7 separate regions of the Homo sapiens genome follow, and regions 2, 3, 4, 5, 6 and 7 are each linked to region 1. Evidence: promoter capture Hi-C in 16 types of primary human blood cells and fetal thymus (Javierre and others, 2016). All regions are on one chromosome and are shown on one strand. Each heading gives the region's core, a stretch centred on a gene start or on the middle of the fragment in contact. The rest is flanking DNA. Distances are from core to core; before and after follow the strand shown.

What was found. The method cuts DNA at HindIII sites, captures the fragments that hold promoters and counts their contacts. A CHiCAGO score of 5 or more calls a contact.
Region 2: a contact is called between a fragment that was not itself captured here and the fragment with the promoter of NPPC in region 1, in 6 of 17 cell types (neutrophils, monocytes, non-activated CD4 T cells and 3 more). The highest score is 9.0, in neutrophils.
Region 3: a contact is called between a fragment that was not itself captured here and the fragment with the promoter of NPPC in region 1, in 6 of 17 cell types (fetal thymus, naive CD8 T cells, neutrophils and 3 more). The highest score is 8.4, in fetal thymus.
Region 4: a contact is called between a fragment that was not itself captured here and the fragment with the promoter of NPPC in region 1, in 7 of 17 cell types (naive CD8 T cells, total CD4 T cells, total CD8 T cells and 4 more). The highest score is 8.0, in naive CD8 T cells.
Region 5: a contact is called between a fragment that was not itself captured here and the fragment with the promoter of NPPC in region 1, in 3 of 17 cell types (total CD4 T cells, total CD8 T cells and naive CD4 T cells). The highest score is 6.9, in total CD4 T cells.
Region 6: a contact is called between a fragment that was not itself captured here and the fragment with the promoter of NPPC in region 1, in 1 of 17 cell types (naive CD8 T cells). The highest score is 5.8, in naive CD8 T cells.
Region 7: a fragment that was not itself captured here is called in contact with the fragment with the promoter of NPPC in region 1 in 8 of 17 cell types (naive CD4 T cells, naive CD8 T cells, endothelial precursors and 5 more); the score reaches 9.5 in naive CD4 T cells.

The regions. Positions count from the first base shown.
Region 1 is chr2:231,924,946-231,927,645 of GRCh38, reverse strand. It overlaps NPPC (natriuretic peptide C), which reads left to right and starts at 1,250. Exons shown (of 3, transcript NM_024409.4): 1 at 1,250-1,486; 2 at 1,931-2,241. The coding sequence starts at 1,397. The coding sequence ends at 2,221. RefSeq lists an enhancer at 1-560 and silencers at 962-1,181, 2,137-2,186, 2,267-2,356. The HindIII fragment of the contact is 15,333 bases long and covers 1-2,700 here.
Region 2 is chr2:232,340,959-232,343,658 of GRCh38, reverse strand. It overlaps a transcript of DIS3L2 not described here and the pseudogene NRBF2P6. Among named protein-coding and RNA genes, the nearest start is that of ALPP, 36 kb to the left of the region's middle. RefSeq lists an enhancer at 309-818. The HindIII fragment of the contact is 5,996 bases long and covers 1-2,700 here.
Region 3 is chr2:232,255,832-232,258,531 of GRCh38, reverse strand. The region is part of intron 12 of DIS3L2 (DIS3 like 3'-5' exoribonuclease 2); the gene reads right to left. Among named protein-coding and RNA genes, the nearest start is that of MIR562, 85 kb to the right of the region's middle. The HindIII fragment of the contact is 3,979 bases long and covers 1-2,700 here.
Region 4 is chr2:232,372,195-232,374,894 of GRCh38, reverse strand. It overlaps LOC124906123 (a long non-coding RNA gene), which reads left to right. Exons shown (of 4, transcript XR_007088121.1): 2 at 1-2,004; 3 at 2,181-2,317. Among named protein-coding and RNA genes, the nearest start is that of ALPP, 5.2 kb to the left of the region's middle. The HindIII fragment of the contact is 3,123 bases long and covers 1-2,700 here.
Region 5 is chr2:232,426,021-232,428,720 of GRCh38, reverse strand. No RefSeq gene overlaps it. Among named protein-coding and RNA genes, the nearest start is that of ALPG, 21 kb to the right of the region's middle. The HindIII fragment of the contact is 1,294 bases long and covers 636-1,929 here.
Region 6 is chr2:232,409,754-232,412,453 of GRCh38, reverse strand. It overlaps ALPG (alkaline phosphatase, germ cell), which reads right to left. Exons shown (of 11, transcript NM_031313.3): 11 at 1,740-2,700. The coding sequence ends at 2,582. Among named protein-coding and RNA genes, the nearest start is that of ALPG, 4.3 kb to the right of the region's middle. The HindIII fragment of the contact is 442 bases long and covers 1,068-1,509 here.
Region 7 is chr2:232,388,958-232,391,657 of GRCh38, reverse strand. No RefSeq gene overlaps it. Among named protein-coding and RNA genes, the nearest start is that of ALPP, 12 kb to the right of the region's middle. The HindIII fragment of the contact is 7,652 bases long and covers 1-2,700 here.

The sequences.
Region 1 (2,700 bases), core at 1-2,500:
TTTGTTCTCTCTCCAGCCTGCGTCCTGCTCAGCAGCAGCCAGTCATAGATTCCTGCTCTTCAATCAATTCGGGGGATCTGGGCTCTCCGCCTCTGCGGCCCACACCGCAGTGCCCAAATGCCCACCACACTCCTTAGTGTCCAAGGGACCGAGAAGCCCAGTGCAAGGAGAGCAAGTTCGTGAGTGGTAGGGATATGTGGCCATGTCCCGAGAGCCACGGGGACCTCTCTACAGTCAAAAACGGGAAGTTGACCACCTGTCACGGCTGGCAGAGGCTGGACTGGGCCGCTGGCTAGGAAGCTCTCTCCCCAGCCTGTGAAAGTGCACAGGATACTGGAGCGGGCTTCCCCCAGCAGCGGATCCTCGCGTGGGTGCAGGCAAGGTCAGGTGCGCATTGTTCCCACAGAGGGAGTTCACCAGCGGAGTCAGACCCCGGGACGTTCTGTGTGGCCGAAACCGGCTGAACGTGAACCTAGAGCAGTAACTGGCGAGCATACGATGCCGCGGAGCACACGCATGAGCATGAATATCTTGGTTCCGCGCTCGCAGTCCCCTCGTTCCCGCCTTGCGCTCAAACACTCAGGCTGGCGACACCCCTGCACTCTCCAGTGTGGAAGACTTGCGCTCCCCCCTGCGGCCCAGGCGAACCCCGCTCTCCCTGCGCCTCCCACCCCAGTCCTCCAACCCCATCCTCTGCCTCCCCAACCTAACGACGTCGCTGTGGTCTGCGCTCCCGCCCTGACCGGCAGGTGAAAGGCGGAGCTGCAATGCCATCCCGCGGCTGTCAGGTGCCCAGGGAAGAGTTTGGCGACAAGCAGGGCTGCGTGGATTTCGGGCAGCGCCAACTTTATGCCTGTATGACTTTGGGCAAGTGACTTCATTCCTCTGAGCCTGTCTTTGCACCTGCAAAGAGGGCTACGTATCCCTTCCAGGTAGAGTGAGTGCGATGAGGACCTAGTGGGTGCACAGGGCACCAGGCGCACCGATGCTCGGCAGGCCAGGGCGCGCGCTCGCTGCAAATGGAGTTCCCCTGTGCGCTCAGCTCTGCAGCTCCAAGTGCAGCCTGGAGCGAGCCCGCCGAGCCGCGGGATCCCTCCGGGGTGGGATAAGGGAGGGGAGCCCCCGCGGCCCCCTCCCGGCCCTCGGCGCGGCCGCGTGCGTGGTGTCATTGGCCCGGGCGGCCCGGTGGGCGGGAGGATGACATCAGCGGCAGGTTGGATTATAAAGGCGCGAGCAGAGTCACGGGCTCAGAGCGCACCCAGCCGGCGCCGCGCAGCACTGGGACCCTGCTCGCCCTGCAGCCCAGCCAGCCTGCTCCGCATCCCCCTGCTGGTCTGCCCGCCGACCTGCGCGCCCTCGCTGCCGCCCGTGTGCGCCCCTCGACCCCAGCGGCACCATGCATCTCTCCCAGCTGCTGGCCTGCGCCCTGCTGCTCACGCTGCTCTCCCTCCGGCCCTCCGAAGCCAAGCCCGGGGCGCCGCCGAAGGTGGGTGCTGTCGTGGGGACGCCGAGCCTGGGAGAGGCGTGGGAGGCTGGGGGCTTGGAGAATGCGGCGCGCAGGACCCAGGAGAGAGGGAAGGCAGGCGGCTGTCTCCTCCGAGATGCGCGTGGGCGAGAGCCGGGGAGCCCTCGAAGCGCGGATTCGGGGGTCCACTTCTCCAGCCTCCGGAGAACATCGGCCCATGCGCAGCCCCCTACCCCAGTGTGGCCTGCCCGGCGAGCAGCAAAGGGAGGGCAGGGGGCTTCCGGAGGGAGCGGCGAAGGCGGCCGCGTGGCAGGTGGATGCGGGGCCAAGCTGGCCGGCATCGGTGGGGGCGGCTCTGGGCTTGGGAGGGACACCCCGCGCCGGCGGGCGCGTGGGGCTGGAGCATCAGAGTCCCCCGTGCTGCAGCCGCGTGTCCCTTCACCTGCCCGCTCTTTCCTCGGACAGGTCCCGCGAACCCCGCCGGCAGAGGAGCTGGCCGAGCCGCAGGCTGCGGGCGGCGGTCAGAAGAAGGGCGACAAGGCTCCCGGGGGCGGGGGCGCCAATCTCAAGGGCGACCGGTCGCGACTGCTCCGGGACCTGCGCGTGGACACCAAGTCGCGGGCAGCGTGGGCTCGCCTTCTGCAAGAGCACCCCAACGCGCGCAAATACAAAGGAGCCAACAAGAAGGGCTTGTCCAAGGGCTGCTTCGGCCTCAAGCTGGACCGAATCGGCTCCATGAGCGGCCTGGGATGTTAGTGCGGCGCCCCCTGGCGGCGGTGAGTACGGCCCACCCGACGCCCAGCCCCAGCCCGGCCCGGGACCGCCCGCCGCCCAGCCGGCCTTCGGAGGCGCGCGAGCCGCCTTTGCTCAAGTTGTGCTAGGCGTTTGCCAGCCGCCCCCTTTATTATCCCACTTTACAGACAAAGAAAGCGAAGGATAACGTGATCGGGGAACTTTGGCAAGGTCAGAAACGGCTCAGCCTGGTTGAACCCACCTGGCTTCTTCTGGAGAAGCAGAAACAGGCTTGGTGGTGTCTCACCCACCCCTGAACCGTAGCTGAACTAGCAGCACTGGCCCCTATTGGCCAGCTGGTGGGGGGATTGAGAGGAGATCATGGGTTTGTGGGAGCAGAGAAGGAAGGTTACACCCACAAGTCCAGGGGACATCGATCATCTGCTGGCCACCATGCCCCCTGTAGTGAGAGTAGCCCTCTGCTGGCACTGTCAGAGCGCCCT
Region 2 (2,700 bases), core at 135-2,634, 420 kb before region 1:
AAGTCTGGCCTTTTCAGCCTTTACCTGTTTACTTTCTTTCCATAATCTTTCCTTCTCCGCCACAAGGAATTCCACATGCTTCTTCAAATCTGCAACTGGGTTGTCTGCTCCTCTACTCTTATCGTGTTTTGGGGCTTTGCTTCCAATACACGGCTCTGTTGCTGAAGGAAAAACAGTCGTGTGTCTGGATCCCTGTCACATATGCCCCGAGTCTCAGGCAGGCGTTCCTCTGTGGAGGGCTGTGCTTCTGCATCTTCAGCAGAGGGGCTGTGAGAGGCCTGAAGATGGGCAGCCCCATCCTTGTCTGCGTTCTGCTGGGCCCTTTTCCGTGTCTCCTGGATGAGGAGGCGCGGTTTCATGTGGCTAGGCCTTTGCAATTCCAGTGAAAGGTGAGCCTACTCAGCCTGCGTCAGCTCCATAGCTTCAGAAAGATACAGCATGGCCTTTTTGTGACAGGAAATAGCCTCTTCATATTTGCCTGCAGCTAGTCAACAGTCTGCTTTGATGATGAGCCAGGTTGAGGGGGCCTTCAGTTACTTCCAGAAGACCCCAGGGTAGGCGGCAGTGCCGGGGAACATGGAGGGGACAGCAGAGCAGTGTGATGCAGCTGTGGACACAGCAGCCCCTCTCAAATCTTTAACCTGCCTCAGCCCTCCCAGCCCCCCCACTCTGACTCCTATCAGCCCTTGAAATCTGTGATTTCGACCCATGAACACCTCTTTGATCTGTGCCCAGCAAGGGCTGGGGCACACTCTTCTGCAGAAAAGACCCATCGACCGTGCAGCCCTTCCCCAGGTGGCACAGCTGCTCCTGGCTCACGGAGCTGCCCAGGGACTGGCCCCTCACCCTGGGCTCCCAGGGGCCCCAGCCCAGCCTGGGCTCACACATGAGCCTAGAGGTTCTATGGAGGCAATGAGGATTTGTCACTGCCATGACTGCTACTTGAGGCTTTAAGTAGAAGACCATACGCAGCCTTCTAAACGAGTGGGAACCTGAGGTTGCGTGTCAGTAGGAATTTTATCTGTTGCTAGAATAGTGGACTCTTTCATACACCCTATGCTGAATGTACAAGAAGCCTTGGAATCCAATTGTGGATCATTCCTGTGCTATTAGCATGAATACATTTTTTTCAACTTCAGTTTTTACTTTTGTCCAAGTTATATGTGAATGTAGTTTAAAGTATCAAACAGATCTACAAGGTTTGTTAAAACAAACAGCAGTTCCGTCTCCCTCCTTGCATTTTCCCATCTCTGAGGCAACCACTTTCCTCTCTCTTGGTGTTTTACTATTTACCACTGTTGCTAAATAAGATACTTCTTCATGTCTGAATTTGAAGCTATGTGTATATATGTATATATGTGTATATATGCATATATGTGTATATATGTATATGTGTATGTGTGTATGTGTATATATGTGTATGTGTATATATGTATGTGTATATATGTGTATATATGTATGTGTATATATGTATACGTGTATATATGTGTATGTGTATATGTATATGTGTATATATGTATATGTGTATATATATATGCTACACACACACACACACACACACAGCCTACTGATGTTCTATTATCTATCGTTGTGTGACAAACTACCCCCAACAACCTTAAAAAACAATCATCTATCGTCTATATTTTGATCACAAAACTGCCATCTGGGCAGGGCTGATGGGACTGCCTGTGTGTACTGAGGCCTCAGCGGGCCTGGCTTGCAGGTTGGGGGTCTGCGTGGCTGCCCAACTGGTGCTGGCTGTGGGCTGAGAGTGGGCCCCTCCATAAGGGCTTCTCCAGAGCTGCTTGGGCTTCCTTACAGAAGGGCAGGTAGGTTTCCAGAGACAGAGAGGGGAAGCTGCCAGTCTCTTAAGGCCTGGGCCTGCAACTGGCACAGTGTCCCTTCTGCCATATTAGCTTAGCAGCCCTGGGGCCTGTCAAGATTGAAGAGGCGGAAAGAGAGTTTACAGTCATCTTCAAGCCACAGCTTCCCACTGAGGAAAATGAGCATTTAGCTTCCATTTCACCAACTGCATTCCCTGCATGTGGACAGCGTCCCCATCTTCCAGTCCTCCTGATAGAGTTCTGCAGTAAACTAGATCCTGACTCGGCATTTCTATGGTGATGACTGTGTAAACGCTATTGCCAGATCGTAAACTGTGACTAGCTACCTCTTCTTGCTTGCACTGCTGTTTTCTCTGGAGCCAATCATGGTCTTATCTTCACATGTGGATCATTCTGTATGTACTACTAATCCAACCCGAGGCTCTATGCGAAGTACTTCAATGTCCTCCAGGCTCTTCTGGGGAATTCAGCTTTCTATCCATGTCACTCTACTGCTGCCCTGGGTGGGACGTCCCGGGGCGGGTTGCCAGGCACCACCTGGGGCTGAGCTGCTCCCTCACCACTGTCCCGAGCGCTTGCCCCACCGCAGCTTGAAGGACCCTGGGTCCTGTCACTACGGTTTCCTCTTTGTGGCTTCTGCCCTCATTACTGCCCATCTTTCCTGAGAAGGCGAGGGACATGTATCTGTTGAGAGCTCACCTGTCTGCAGTGTTTTTACTCTAGTGGCGCTGAAATGTGTCTCCACGGTGGCAATCATTGTGCCTCCAAGGGCCCTTGTTTTGCTCTCTAGGAACTTTTTGGAGCAACCTCCTCTCGTTTCACGATGGCTTTCTCACCTCCAGGAAGGCATTCATCA
Region 3 (2,700 bases), core at 191-2,690, 330 kb before region 1:
GCTCACTGCAACCTCCGCCTCCCGGGTCCAAGTGATTCTCCTGCCTTAGCCTCCTGAGTAGCTGGGACTACAGGCACATGCCACCATGCCCGGCTCATTTTCTGTATTTTTAGTAGAGACGGGGTTTCACCATGTTGGCCAGGATGGTCTCTAACTCCAGACCTCGTGATCCGCCCGCTTTGGCCTCCCAAAGTGCTGGGATTACAGGCATGAGCCACCACACCTGGCCCCTCTTTTCTTTCTTAATCACAGGATTTGGGTCACTCTTCTGTAGGCAGGTGAGTTTACTGCACATACTCTGGAATACCACTGTTCAGAATGTCAAATTAAATACAGTGCCAACACTGACTGAAGGCGTATTACTGGGAAAAAACTACTGAAAAAGGAGTACATAATTATGTACTACAGCACTGTAATTCAAGGCCTACCTACTGTACTAAGTAAGACCGGAAGTAGTCTAACACTCGGAGTATTCTTAAACCTACTACTTCTAAAATCTCCTTAACACATCTGGGAGGAGTGCATTGTTCAGCCCATTTTACAGTTGAGAAAACAGGCCAGGAACTTGTCAAAAGTCATACAAACTCCTAAGTGGCGGCCAAGACCAGATCCAGTTAAAGACAGACCCAAAATCTAGTGTTACTTTTATTCCATTTCAGGTGAAGGTCATAAATTAGACAGAGGCAGATGATGAAGTAAAATAAACCAAGTATGTCTCAAACACACATCAACTTTCTATATTGATACAGAAGTATGACCACTTCCTTTGAAAATTATTCAGTTCCATTCAAATGTATCTTTAAATTTATCCTCTGAAAAATGTCAGCACTTCATTAAGATGTATCTCTGGCTGAAAAAACTGCAAGTGGGGTTAACTTATAATCTTAAATAATTAGGTACAAAATCACTTTTGCAGGAGCTCCGGGCTTCCGTATGCAAAATATTTTGTTCAAAAAAATATGAGGAAGAAAGAAACCTTTTCCTGACTGGAACAAAACCAGGCTGTTTGGAGTGACGGAGGGTGGGAGGGAGGTGGAGTGGATTTTGGCTGCTTCTTAGAGCTACGAAAACAGGGCAATCATCCTTAGTAGGGGCAGCCCGGCAGTGAGAAAAGTCAAAGGTGCCAAGAAGCAAGTGTCTGAAAAGGACTAGGCAGAGAGAGGACGGGCTGGAAGAGAGCAGAGAGAGGCAGGTCATGCCTGTGGTGGAAAGGACGCAAACTTGCTAGGGAAGGTCCTAGTAACTGCAGAGGACAGAGGCAGTGGGGTGGCTAGAGCAAACAAGAGGCTACTCCACAAGCCCCAGTCCTCACACTAGGGCCATCATCACTAAGCAAAGCTCAGGCTTCCCCTGAAAAAGGGAGAGACGAACACAGTAAGATTAAGGCATGAATATCTAGACTGAAGCACCATTGCACACAATCCACTTATACACCCAGCAGAATGCTCGCTTTCTCTTCACAGGTGGCTCACTGCAACTTCTGCCTCCTGGGTTCAAGCAATTCTCCTGCCTCAGCCTCCCAAGTAGCTGGGACTACAGGTGCCCACCACCATGCCTGGCTAATTTTTGTATTTTTAGTAGAGACAGGGTTTCACCATGTTGGCCAAGCTGGTCTTGAACTCCTGACCTCAGGTGATCTGCCCACCTCAGCCTCCCAAAGTGCTGAGATTAAAGGTATGAGCCACCATGCCCAGCCAAATATTTATTTATTTATTCATTCATTTATATTTTAGAAACAGGGTCTCGATCTGTTCTCAATCTGATCAAGTGATCCTCCTGCCTCAGCCTCCTAAGTAGCGGCAAGGCAGAGAGAAATTTTGATGTGGAAAGGGGGACCTCAGCAGTTGAAGTTGGCTAGCCTCTCTCGTTTCCAAGAAGGAGGAATGAAAGGTACTTGGGAGAATGATGGGTCTTAAAGGAAAGAGGAGTGGAAAGCAAGGTTGAGGTTGGAACCGAAGAAAAAAGGCTTGGAACCTAGTGACGAATAAAAGGATTCCCAAGTAGCACTGAAGGTTCAGCTGAGAAAGCCCCAACTGGTACACAACATAGTTCTACAATGTCCAATTCTCAGAATGGAATGAGTTAAGCAGGGAGGAAAAGATCTGCTCAGCTACAAGGAAGGGGCAGAGGCTTGAAGGATATGAGAAGATGGCAGGTGGGGAAACTCAACCTTGACTGATGTCAGGTCCCTGGAGCTGGGGAGGGGGCCTGCAGCACAGCAGAGAGCTCAGTTACACATAAAAGGCAGCTTCTCTCCTGTGAGCAGCAATGCTCCAGGACATGAGAGGAGATGCTGGTTGCAGGAAGACTCTGGAGTCTATGCATTTCCAGCACAGAAGACAGGCAGAAAAGAACAAGGAAAAAGTTACCATTGTAAGGGGGCGTTTTATCTTTTATTGTGAATGAGAGATTGGAAAGTTTTAATGGAGAGACAAGGCTTAAGATTCAGAAGGATCACTCTGACAGCTGTATGCAGAGGAGATGACGTGGGGCAAGAGCAGAGGCTGCAAGGACAGTCAGGAGGCCACTGTATCTGTCAAGGTGAGAGAGAATAGCTTGGACGCAGGTATTAGTGCCGGTAGTTAAGGAAGGGGGCTGATTCTGGAGGCATTCAGAAAGCAAAGCAGCGATGACACACTGGCAGACTGGATGCAGATGTAGCATGAGAGAAAGACCAAAGTCAAGAATGACCCCGTGGTT
Region 4 (2,700 bases), core at 39-2,538, 450 kb before region 1:
GGCTCACTGCAGCCTTAACCTCCTGGGCCCAAGAGATTCTTCCACCTCAGCCTCCCGAGTAGTGGGGACTACAGGTGTGTGCCACCTTGCCCATTTAATTTTTGCATTTTTGGTAGAGATGGGGTTTCACCATGTTGCCCAGGCTGGTCTGGAAGTCCTGGGCTTAAGCCTCTCCTCCCAAAGTGCTGTGATTACAGGTGTGAGCCTCCACCCCCAGCACGGCCTAAATTTTTTGACACTCCTTTTCTTTTAATAGCTTTTGGCCAGAACATGCTTACTAGCAACACCTCTTCCCAACCCCTCATGAATAATCATGTAAGATTTCCATAAAGGGAGCCTCCCTAGTGCCAACTTTTGCTGTCTCATCTTTATGAGCAGCCTGCCCTGAATTCTTCTCTCTGCCTATTCTGCACTTCACTTTCAAGATGTTCTTTTTCTTTTGCAAAAATTATTGTATGCTGCATCTCCTTTGCTGTTGTGTCTCTTGTTTAAATTATTTTAAGCTAAGAAGACAAGAACCAAAGTCTCACATCAGCTGCCAACAGTACTCCAGATTATTTCAGGTGGTGTGGGTGTCAAGGCAATTCCATCTTGGGGCCTGATCTACCAGGTTGATGAATGCCAGTTCTCGGAGGGCCTCTGAGATTTCCCATTCATGTCGTGTTTCTAGTGCGGGAGCACCTACTTCCCATAAATCCTGCCCTTAGGACAAAACAACTTTGATGTTATCATATTTCAATTGTCCTACACATCCCTTTGAGGTCACCCCTCCCCTGTGGCCCTTGGTCTTGGGGGGTAAAGCTACCATCTTGTCTCACTGCCACCTGAGACCCAGACATAGCTTCTGTTTGTAAGTCTCTATTAAATGTTTTTTTCTAAGAAACTGGATATGTCAGCAATTCTCCTGCCTCAGCCTCCTGCAGTGGCTCACGTCTTTATAGGAGGCCGAGGTGGGTTGATTGCTGGAACCCAGGACTTTGAGACCAGCCTGGACAACATGGCAAGACACTGTCTCTACCAAAAAATGTAAAAATTAGCTGGGCATGGTGGCATATGCCTGTAGTCCCAGCTACTTGGGAGGCTGAGGTGGGAGGATTGCTTGAACCCAGGAGGTCGAGGCTGCAGTAAGCTGAGGTTGTGTCACTCTACTCCAGCCTGGGCAGCAGAGTGAGACCCTGCCAAAACAAAACAAAACAACAACCAAAAAACCCCACATACTCCTGAAAAGCAGTCTAGGCCACCAGGAGGCTTGCTGTCTTGTCATTTCAACATACATGTCCACTTCAGTTGATGCATTACTGTGGGAACAGCAAGACGAGCTGGCGATTCCACACACTCCCCTTGTTCAGCAAGCAAACAGTGCACAGCTATGCGGTTATCTAAAACTACTCCAGGCTGGGCATGGTGGCTCACGCCTGTAATCCCAGCACTTTGGGAGGCTGAGGTGGGCGGATCACTTGAGGCCAGGAGTCCCAGACCAGCCTCGCCAATATAGTGAAACCCCATCTCTACTAAAAATACAAAAATTAGCAGGGTATTTATGGTGGTACACGCCTGTAATCCCAGCTACATGGGAGGCTGAGGCAGCAGAATCGCTCGAACCCGGGAGGCAGAGGTGGCAGTGAGCCGAGATTGCACCACTGTACTCCAGCCTGGGTGACTAAGCGAGACTCTGTCTCGATAATAATAATAATAATAATAATAATAATAATAATAAAACTACTCCAGCTAAGGAGTCTAGGGACTTGCTGGGCAGCCATAGCAGCCGCCATTTAGCTTGCTTTGATCCATAGGGCAGCCCTCAGGAGCACAGGTCTGTGTCTTGGGTAGCAGTAGTCACTAAGGCTGTCCTTTCTAACTAGGAATCAGTTAGGTTATTACTACATCCAGGCAAAGTCACACCTGCCCGAAAGACTTCCTGACTCATTAAGGCCTGCCCATCAGATGGAGTGCTCTCTGGCTCACCATCAAGGGAAAAGAGGAGCTCGCCTTCTTTTAGCAAGGGTAAGGGAATAGCCCAACTGGGATGCCCAATAGAAACGGGGGCTTCGTGGTCCCTAAAAGGGTCCACGTAAGGAGTACTCAGTCCAGTCCACAATTCTTTTAGGGGTCTTTGGATGTTCAGATAGGGACATGCAAAAAGCTGTGAACTGTTGGGTTAACGGGTCGCTGTGATCCAGGACAGATTGGCTTCGGTGACACATCCAACAGTGGATGAGTTGGCGGATGAAGCAAGAGCTTGTGAAATACTAAGCAGTGAGCTGTCCTTCCATCCAGAGGCAAGAAGGCGCTGGAGAACAGTAACAGCCAGAAAAGCGTATGTTCCCTTTATGATTTCTTAGGGTCTTTGGCTGGGCTTTGAACTCTACCAGTTTCCCCTGGAGGAACTCCAGAAACACTGGCTTTATCTGAGTGTAGTAAATCCGCAGCACCCACAGATGAGTGGGTGCTCAGCAGCACCTCAACAGGGCCGACCACGGTGGTTGCACTGATCTTCAGCCTACTGGAATTTCCAGGTCTTCAACAGAACTTGGTCCCCTGGTTTCAAATTTTAATTTAATTTTTTTTAATTTGAGATAAGCGTCTCGATCTGTCACCCAGGCTGGAATCCAGTGGCTCAATGTTGGCTCACCGCAACCTCCACCTGAGGTTCAAGTGATTGTCCTGCCTCAGCCTCCCGAGTAGCTGGGATTACAGGTG
Region 5 (2,700 bases), core at 33-2,532, 500 kb before region 1:
AAAAAAAAAGAAGAAGCCAAAAACAAACATATTTGTGTTCAGCAATTTATGTTTTTGTGTTTTCTCTTACTTGGAAATGACCAATATATTTAATGAGTATCTGTCAGTTAAGGTAGCATAACATGACTTTAAGATTTCAAAGTCTGGCCAGGCACAGTGGCTCATGCCTGTAATCCCAGCACTTTGGGAGGCTGAGGTGGAGGACTGCTTGAGACCAGGAGTTCGAGAGCAGCCTGGCCAACATGGTGAAACCCCGTCTCTACCAATAATACAAAAAGTAGCTGCGTGTGGTGGCGCATGCCTGTAATCCCAGCTACTCAAGAGGCTGAGGCATGAGAATCATTTGAACGCGGGAGGTGGAGATTGCAGTGAGCCGAGATCACACCACTGCACTCCAGCCTGGGCGACAGAGGAGACTCTGTCTCAAAAAAAAAGAAAAAAAGATTTCAAATTCTATGAAAAGCTCATTTATAGACATTCATCCTATTTACATTTACCTAATTTATATTTTTAACAATTATACCTCCACTAATTATGAATACTGAGATATTACACAAAGCTAGTACTCATTTCCGGGTATTTTCTTGTTCACTATTTTCATAGCCTGTGACTCTCAGGTGTTCACTTAAGAAGCTTAAAGTTAAATACATGGATATTTTGCCAGTAACTCCTAAGACAGAGCTGTTTACATTAAACCAGCAATACTAAATTAGTTTTATTTATCAAAGAACTACACAAACAAAGATCACTGTTTTTAGGTTGGGTTTAAAGTTTTTCTATGACCTTAGGCCAGGCGCAGTGGCTCACGCCTGTAATCTGAGCACTTTGGGAGGCCGAGGTGGGCAGATCACTTGAGGTCAGGAGTTCGAGACCGGCCTGGCTAACATGGTGAAACCCCGTCGCTAATAAAAATGCAAAAATTAGCAGGGCATGATGGCACATGTCTGTAATCCCAGCTACTCAGGACGCTGAGGCAGGAAAATCACTTGAACCCTGGAGGTGGAGGTTGCAGTGAGCTGAGATTACACCACTGCACTCCAGCCTGGGTGACAGAGTGAGACTCCGTCTCACAAAAAATAAAAAATAAAATACAGTTTTAGGACCTTGAAGCATCTAGCAGAGACACGTATGATCCTAACTGACCCACAAACCGAGGGGAAAATGTACACTGCAAATGCTAAAGATGGACGTGCGTGGTGGCTCACGCCTGTAATCCCAGCACTCTGGGAGGCCGAGGCGGGTGGATCACTTGAGGCCAGGCATTTGATTAAATTAATTTTAATTTTAATTTTAATGTTTTTTGTCTTGAGGCCAGAAGTTTGAGACCAGCCTGGCCAACATGGCAAAACCCATTCTTTACTAAAAATACAAAAAAAATTAGCTAGGAGTGGTGATGAGCACCTATAGTACCATCTACTCAGGAGGTTGAGGCATGAGAACCACCTGAACCTGGGAGGTGGAGGTTGCAGTGAGCTGAGATTGCACCACTGCACTCCAGCCTGGGTGATAGAGAGAGGCTCTGAGAGAGAAAAAAAAAAAAAAAAAAAAAAAAAAAAAAAAAAAAAAGAAGGAAGGAAGGGAGGGAGGGAGGGAGGAAGAGAGAGGGAAGAAATGAAGAAAGAAAAGAAAATGCTAAAGATATTTCTATTTTTATTTTATCAACAAATTTAAAACCAGCTTATTTATCAAAGATGTAGTTAAATCGCATGAACTAAAAGGTATTTGGGTTAATTACTATGTTATATATGTATGTATATGTAATATGTATACATGTATTTATATATGTATGTATCTACACAGGTGTGTGTGCATATATATATATATATATATATATATATATATTTTTTTTTTTTTTTTTTTTTTTGAGATGGGGTCTCACTCTGTCACCCGGGCTGGAGTGCAGTGGTACAATCACAGCCCATGGAAGCTTCTACTTTCCAAGTTAAAGTGATTCTCCTGCCTCAGCCTCCCTAGTAGCTGGGACTACAGGCACACACCACCATGCCTGGCTAATTCTTGTATTTTTTTTATAGAGATGGGGTTTTGCCATGTTGCCCAGGCTTATCTCGAACTCCAGCTACTGGGCTCAAGCAGTCCACCGACCTCAGCCTCCCCAAGTGGTGGGACTAAAGATGTTTGACACCGCACCCAGCCTATATACATATTTTTTTTAGAGATGGGGTCTTGCTATGTCACTCAGGCTGTCCTTGAACTCCTGGGCTCAAGTAATCCTTCTGCCTTAGCCCCCTGAGTAGCTGGGAATACAGGCATGCTCCACCATGCCCTGCTCACTATATATTTTAACAAGTTTAATTAATCTAAGTTAAACTGAATAGAATTCCTTAAGGAATTTCTGGCCTATTGTGCCAGATTTCAAATTGGAGACATAACATACAACATGCAAAAACATACATAAACATAGATACACACAAATAAGACCTTATGGCTTTAATTTGAGCGTTTCGGTCATGAGACAGCAAAACATACTAATACAGACTCACAGGTTTATAAGACACAGTAGGATCCAAATGAGATTTCTGAGAAAATGGGAGAGGTCTCAAAGCTAAACTTTAAGATTTGCATTTGTCTTTATGAGCAATCTTATGAGGGCTGTGAACCAAAATTTTGGGTAAAGCAGTTTGGTTTTCTTTTTTGTTTGTCTTTAATTTTTATTTCTTCGATCGTACCTTTTCCCTTTTT
Region 6 (2,700 bases), core at 39-2,538, 480 kb before region 1:
AGGAACTGACTGACAACTAGGAAGATAGAAATATACTAGCTGGATTTTACCAGAAACCTTTGCATACTTGATGGATGGAATTTAACAATGAGTGTGATAATTTAGTAAGGCCAGCTATTTGAGTCTATCTTCTGTTCACCTCCCATATTTCTGTGACAGCCACTGAAACCCAGAATTGAAAAAACTGTCCTGAAACCCAGGTTCTCAAATACATGTTTTGTTTTGTTTTGTTTTGTTTTGAGACAGGGTCTTGGTCTGTCACTCAGACTAGAGTGCAGTGGCAAAATCTCAGCTCACTGCAGCCTCAACTACCCTGGGCTCAGGTGATCCTCCCGCCTCAGCCTCCCAAGTAGTTGGGATGACAGGCACGTGCCACCTGGCCTGGCTAAATTTTTTAAAAATCTGGGGCTAGGCATGGTGGCTCATGCCTGTAATCTCAGCACTTTCTGAGGCCAAGGCGAGCGGATCGTTTAAGGTCAGGATTGAGACCAGCCTGGCCAACATAGTGAAACCCCATCTCTACTAAAAATTCAAAAATTTGCCTGGCATGGTGGCAGGCGCCTGTAATCCCAGCTACATGGGAGGCTGGGGCGGGAGATTCACTTGAATCCAGGAGGTGGAGTTTGCAGTGAGCCTAGATCCTGCCACTGCACTTCAGCCTGGGAGACAGAGTGAGACTCTGCCTCAACACTAAACGAAAACGTGTAGAGGTGAGGTCTCACCATTTGCCCAGGCTGGTCTGCAACTCCTGAACTCAAGCAATCCTAACCTCTTTTCCTCCCAAAGTGCTGGGATTGCAGGCATTGAACCACCATGCCTGGCAAATAGACGTCTTACAATGTTAATTCAATTTTCATAAAGAAGTATTCAATCATTCTAGTATTTCTAGTGAGTACAAAGTCTTTTTGTTTTGTTTTCTTCTTGAGACAGGGCCTTGCTCTGTCACCCAGGCTGAAGTGTAGTGACGTGATCGCACCTCACTGCAGCCTCCACCCTCCCAGGCCCCAGACAATCCTCCCACCTCAGCCTCCTGAGTAGCTGGGACCACAGACATGGGCAACCAAGCTTGGCTAATTTTTGTATTTTTTGTAGAGACAGAATTTCACCATGTTGACAAAGTGCTCCTTGTACCATTGTAAATGTACAAATAAATCTGTAATAATGTAAACTTTCCTGGAAAATGTGGTTGATTTCACCTTCATTTAATTCTTTTCAATGTTCTCTTGGGGCAAGTGTGATACTAAGTATGGCTGTATTGGGATGGGTGCTCCAGAATGCTTTCGGAGGGAGGTCAGAAACACCTGGAGTCAGCTCCTTCCCCAGCTCTCACCTCTACCCTCCACCACCCCCACCCTCTATCCAAAAGACCAGACCCTTCTCCTGGCAGCAGCCAGAGTGCTCATTTCCCAGCCAGGGCAGGTCACAGCCCTCCTCAAAGACCTCCAACCACACCCCTCTACCTAGACTTCACGGTCCCCCATGTCCCCCACCCTCCTGACCCCTCAAGCTTTACCCCATCTACCCACCCTCTGATCCAGCCCCTGGCCTCCCAGACAGCCTGCTGACACTGCCCCAGGGCCTTTGTGCTGCTGTGCCACCTTGCTCAAGCCCCGACTCTGTTCAGGTCTCCTGCTCAGTCATCTGCTCCTCAGCAGCCCCTCCTGGCCTGTGTTATCCACCCCTCCAGCCACTGTGTCCACATTCAGTCATGATTTTTATGCTAGGAAGTAGTACTGGCATTACATTGTCTAACACTTCCTTTTATTATTGCTTTGTGTTTCCCAGAAGAATGGAGGCCCAGGGAGGGAAGGTAATGAGTCTTCCTTGCTGAGAAATCCATGCCCAGCACCCAGATGGCCTAGGCGGGGCCATGGACTCTGGACTGCTATCCTGCACCCAGAGCTTCCCAGGTGCTCCTCGGAACTCAGGTGGGTGCTGGAATGGACCTTAGGGGGCGTCGAACATCTGAGTGGCTGTGACTTGGGGCAAGCCTCTCTGACTCATGGGCCCCTAGGAGGGGCACAGGGGTGTAGAATTAGCCCAGTGGAGGGACAGCAGAGGACTGTGTCAAAGCCCCCCTGGGGATCCCCACCACAGCAGCCTCCTTGGCTGGGAGGGTGGGTTGCAGGGTGGCAGGAAGCCACGCTTCTCCAAGGCGTCCTGATGCACCCAAGTCCTTGTGTCCCTCAGGTGCTGCCATGACTGAAGCTAAAAAAGGCGCAGGGGGTCCTAGGTATGGGTGCCTCATGTCCCCGGGGAGAGAGCCTGCCTGATCCACCTCAGGATATGGGCGGGGGCTGGATGGTCTGAGCCTCCTCTTTTCCTGAAATGCAGGCAGCTGCCAGGCACAAATCCCCAGTCCCTGGAGTTGGGGCCAAAATTTCAAGAGCAAGATAAAGCAAAGGGCGTGGTGTCAAGGGCTCGGTCCCCAGGGTGCACCGGGAGGGGAAGGTTCCATGGCAGGACGTCTGTGTGGCGACTCCGGGGGTGACAGCTCCAGGTGGAGGTCCGGCAGGACGACTGGAGGTGGGGAGCAGGGGAACTCCGGGATGGGGAAGCAGGAGCCCCAGGGACGGGACACTCAGGGAGCAGTGGCCGTCCCCAGCAGCAGCAAGGTCCCTGCCAGCAGAGGAAGCAACGCGGGGACCACGGACGGCCCCGGGTGCGCGGCGTCGGTGGTGCCGGCGCGGGGCGCCAGGT
Region 7 (2,700 bases), core at 149-2,648, 460 kb before region 1:
TGCAATGGCTCGATCTCGGCTCACTGCAACCTCAGCCTCCAGATTCAAGCAATTCTCCTGCCTCAGTCTCTCAAGTAGCTGGGATTACAGGCGTGCGCCACCACACCTGGCTAATTTTGTATTTTCAGTAGAGACAGGGTTTCACCATATTGGTCAGGCTGGTCTGGAACTCTTGATGCCAAGTGATCCACGTGCCTTGGCCTCCCAAAGTGCTGGGGTTACAGGCATCAGCCACCGCGCCTGGCAAGCAGTTTAGTTTTCTGGTTTTTATTTTAATCTCTTTGAGCCCACCTTTATCCTTTTTCAGTTTCAAATGAGATTAAGGATTAAATACTAACTGTTTAATTTTAGCTAGGACTGGCTGGATTTTGTACAAGAAACAAAATCTCCTAGCAGTTTTGAAAAGTCCAATAACAAATTTCTCTTCTGTTTGCCACTCTCAGTTGCTTGACAGCTCCGTGCCGGTGGGAAGCATTTTAGCAGTTCGTTCAGCTCTTCCTGGCCCCTGTGTAGCAGAGAAGCAGTTTTTATGCCAGAAACAGAGATCCTTTTCATTATTGCTCTGAGCTCATGATTTTGACCTGTTTAATCTGGGTGCCTAACATTTATAAACATTTCTCTCATTCTGTTCTTTTCTAATATCAATCCTTCCGTGGACTGTTCCATCACCCGAAGCAACTGTTAGGCAAACCTGAATTTACATTTCCAAAAGGTCTCTAGGTTGTTGTTTGCCACGGAGCTGTTGTAATTTATAGAGCCATTAATTTGAAAGCCCTTCAAGACCCCTTCCTTAGTGGTTTTTATGTTGGCTGGAGTGTGATATTATCAGTTTATCTTAATGCCAGCAGAAATGTCAGCAGATTCCAAGTAGGCAGAAAAGAGAGAGACAGAAGTAGACAACTTAGAAGGCTCTCCATTTAACTTTGTAGTTGGCAGTTTAAAAATTCAGTATTAGGAAAAAGCAAATTTGAGGAGTTCAAATGATTCCAATGATGGCCATTGATTTTGAAATGTGCACAGGGAAAGCCATGTAGCTGCCTGGAGTCCCAGAAAATCTGGCACGCCTTAGTGTCTGAGAATGCCATTCCATTTCTTTTTCATCTCTGAGAAGCAAAGAAAATCCTATAAACCCTGTCAGGGACTGTCAGGAGTCTGGACCAGTGTTTTAGATGGTGGTGACACCCTGGGTTCTTTCAGTTGGCTTTCTCACACTCACCATATGTGTATTTTTTGAGACAATTCTCACTGTTAAACAGGCTTTAGTGCAGTGGCAGGACCACAAGTCATGGTAGCCTCGACCTCCTGGGCTCAAGCAATCCTCCCACATCAGCCTCCTGATAGCTGGGACTACAGGTGGGAGCTGCCACACCCAGCTAATTTTTGTGTTATTTGTAGAGGTGGGGTTTCATCATGTTGCCCAGGCTGGTCTCCAACTCCTTAGCTCAAGCCATTCTCTCACCTTGGCCTCCCAGAGTGCAGGGATTACAGACAGGAGCCACCTCGAGGGGCCGACCCTCACCGTGTGTACGTGTGTTTTAACATTTCCTATGGTGCTAAACTATTTATGTTTATTTTTGCTGTGGGATGATCAGAAGATGTTCAGGAACAAGCAAGAAAAAAAAATGAGCCAAATCATTTAAAGACGTGGGAAACCAAACCAAAATCAAACCCAAATCAGAATGCTCACAAAATTTCAACCAAGGTGTACACATCAAACATAATATTCAGTCAGGCATCCAGAACCAAAAGTGAATTCACCAGGAAAGACTTGCCTCATGGACAGAACATAAATTCTTTAGAACTCAGAGTCCTCAAACCAGAAGGGCACTGCTCTTTACACCAGAAAGTGCTTGCCAAAAGCAAAGAAGCAAAAAAAAGAAAGAAAGAAAGAAAGAAAGAAAGAAAGAAAGAAAGAAAGAAAGAAAGAAAGAAAGAAAGAAACCCAACCTTTATACCCTCAGGAGGGATGCAAGGTCCTTTGTTTAAGGGAGCCTTATAATCAAATCACATCCAGGATAAAGTAAAAAGGAACTGACCAAAGGGAGGGAATCTGGGTATTTGAGGAGATTCACCAGAACAGAAAAGCAACTCCTGGAAAGGCAGTCTGCGGGGGGCTCAGTCAACACTGCGTTAGATTCCAGGACACGCTGATTCATCCAAGATGAATTCACTTCGGTCCCACTTCTGGCTCCGCTATGTGACACTGCATAACAAATACAGAAAGACTCTAAAATAAAATGAACTTTCTTTGGAAATAGGTATTGCTTGGGAATAAGCAGGCCATAGGAAAGCACGTGTGAATTTAGGGAGGTGAAGGAAGACAAAGGTTTTTAAAGGAAAATGGAGGAGGATCACAGGATTGTTTTGAGATATTTATCCTTGGCTACAAGGATCAAGGATATGCGTGGCACCAGTCTGAGGATGGACGGGTGGTTGCTGGGCAGATGTCCTTGCAGAAATATTTTTCGATGAAAGGTTAAGAAGGCCTTTGTGCAAGGTGGAACTGGGCCTGGACCACTGGCATCACCCACTCACCCACAGCCTCAGCTTCCCTTTTGGAGACACTGCAGGGGAGCCAAGGAGCTGGGCCTCGGACCCCTCTTTATTGGCAGTCTGTGCAGGGTGACCAGGACTGTGTGGTCACAGGCTAAACCCAAGTCACCTCCTATTGGCCGCGATTGCTGTGCTCTGGGTCAACTG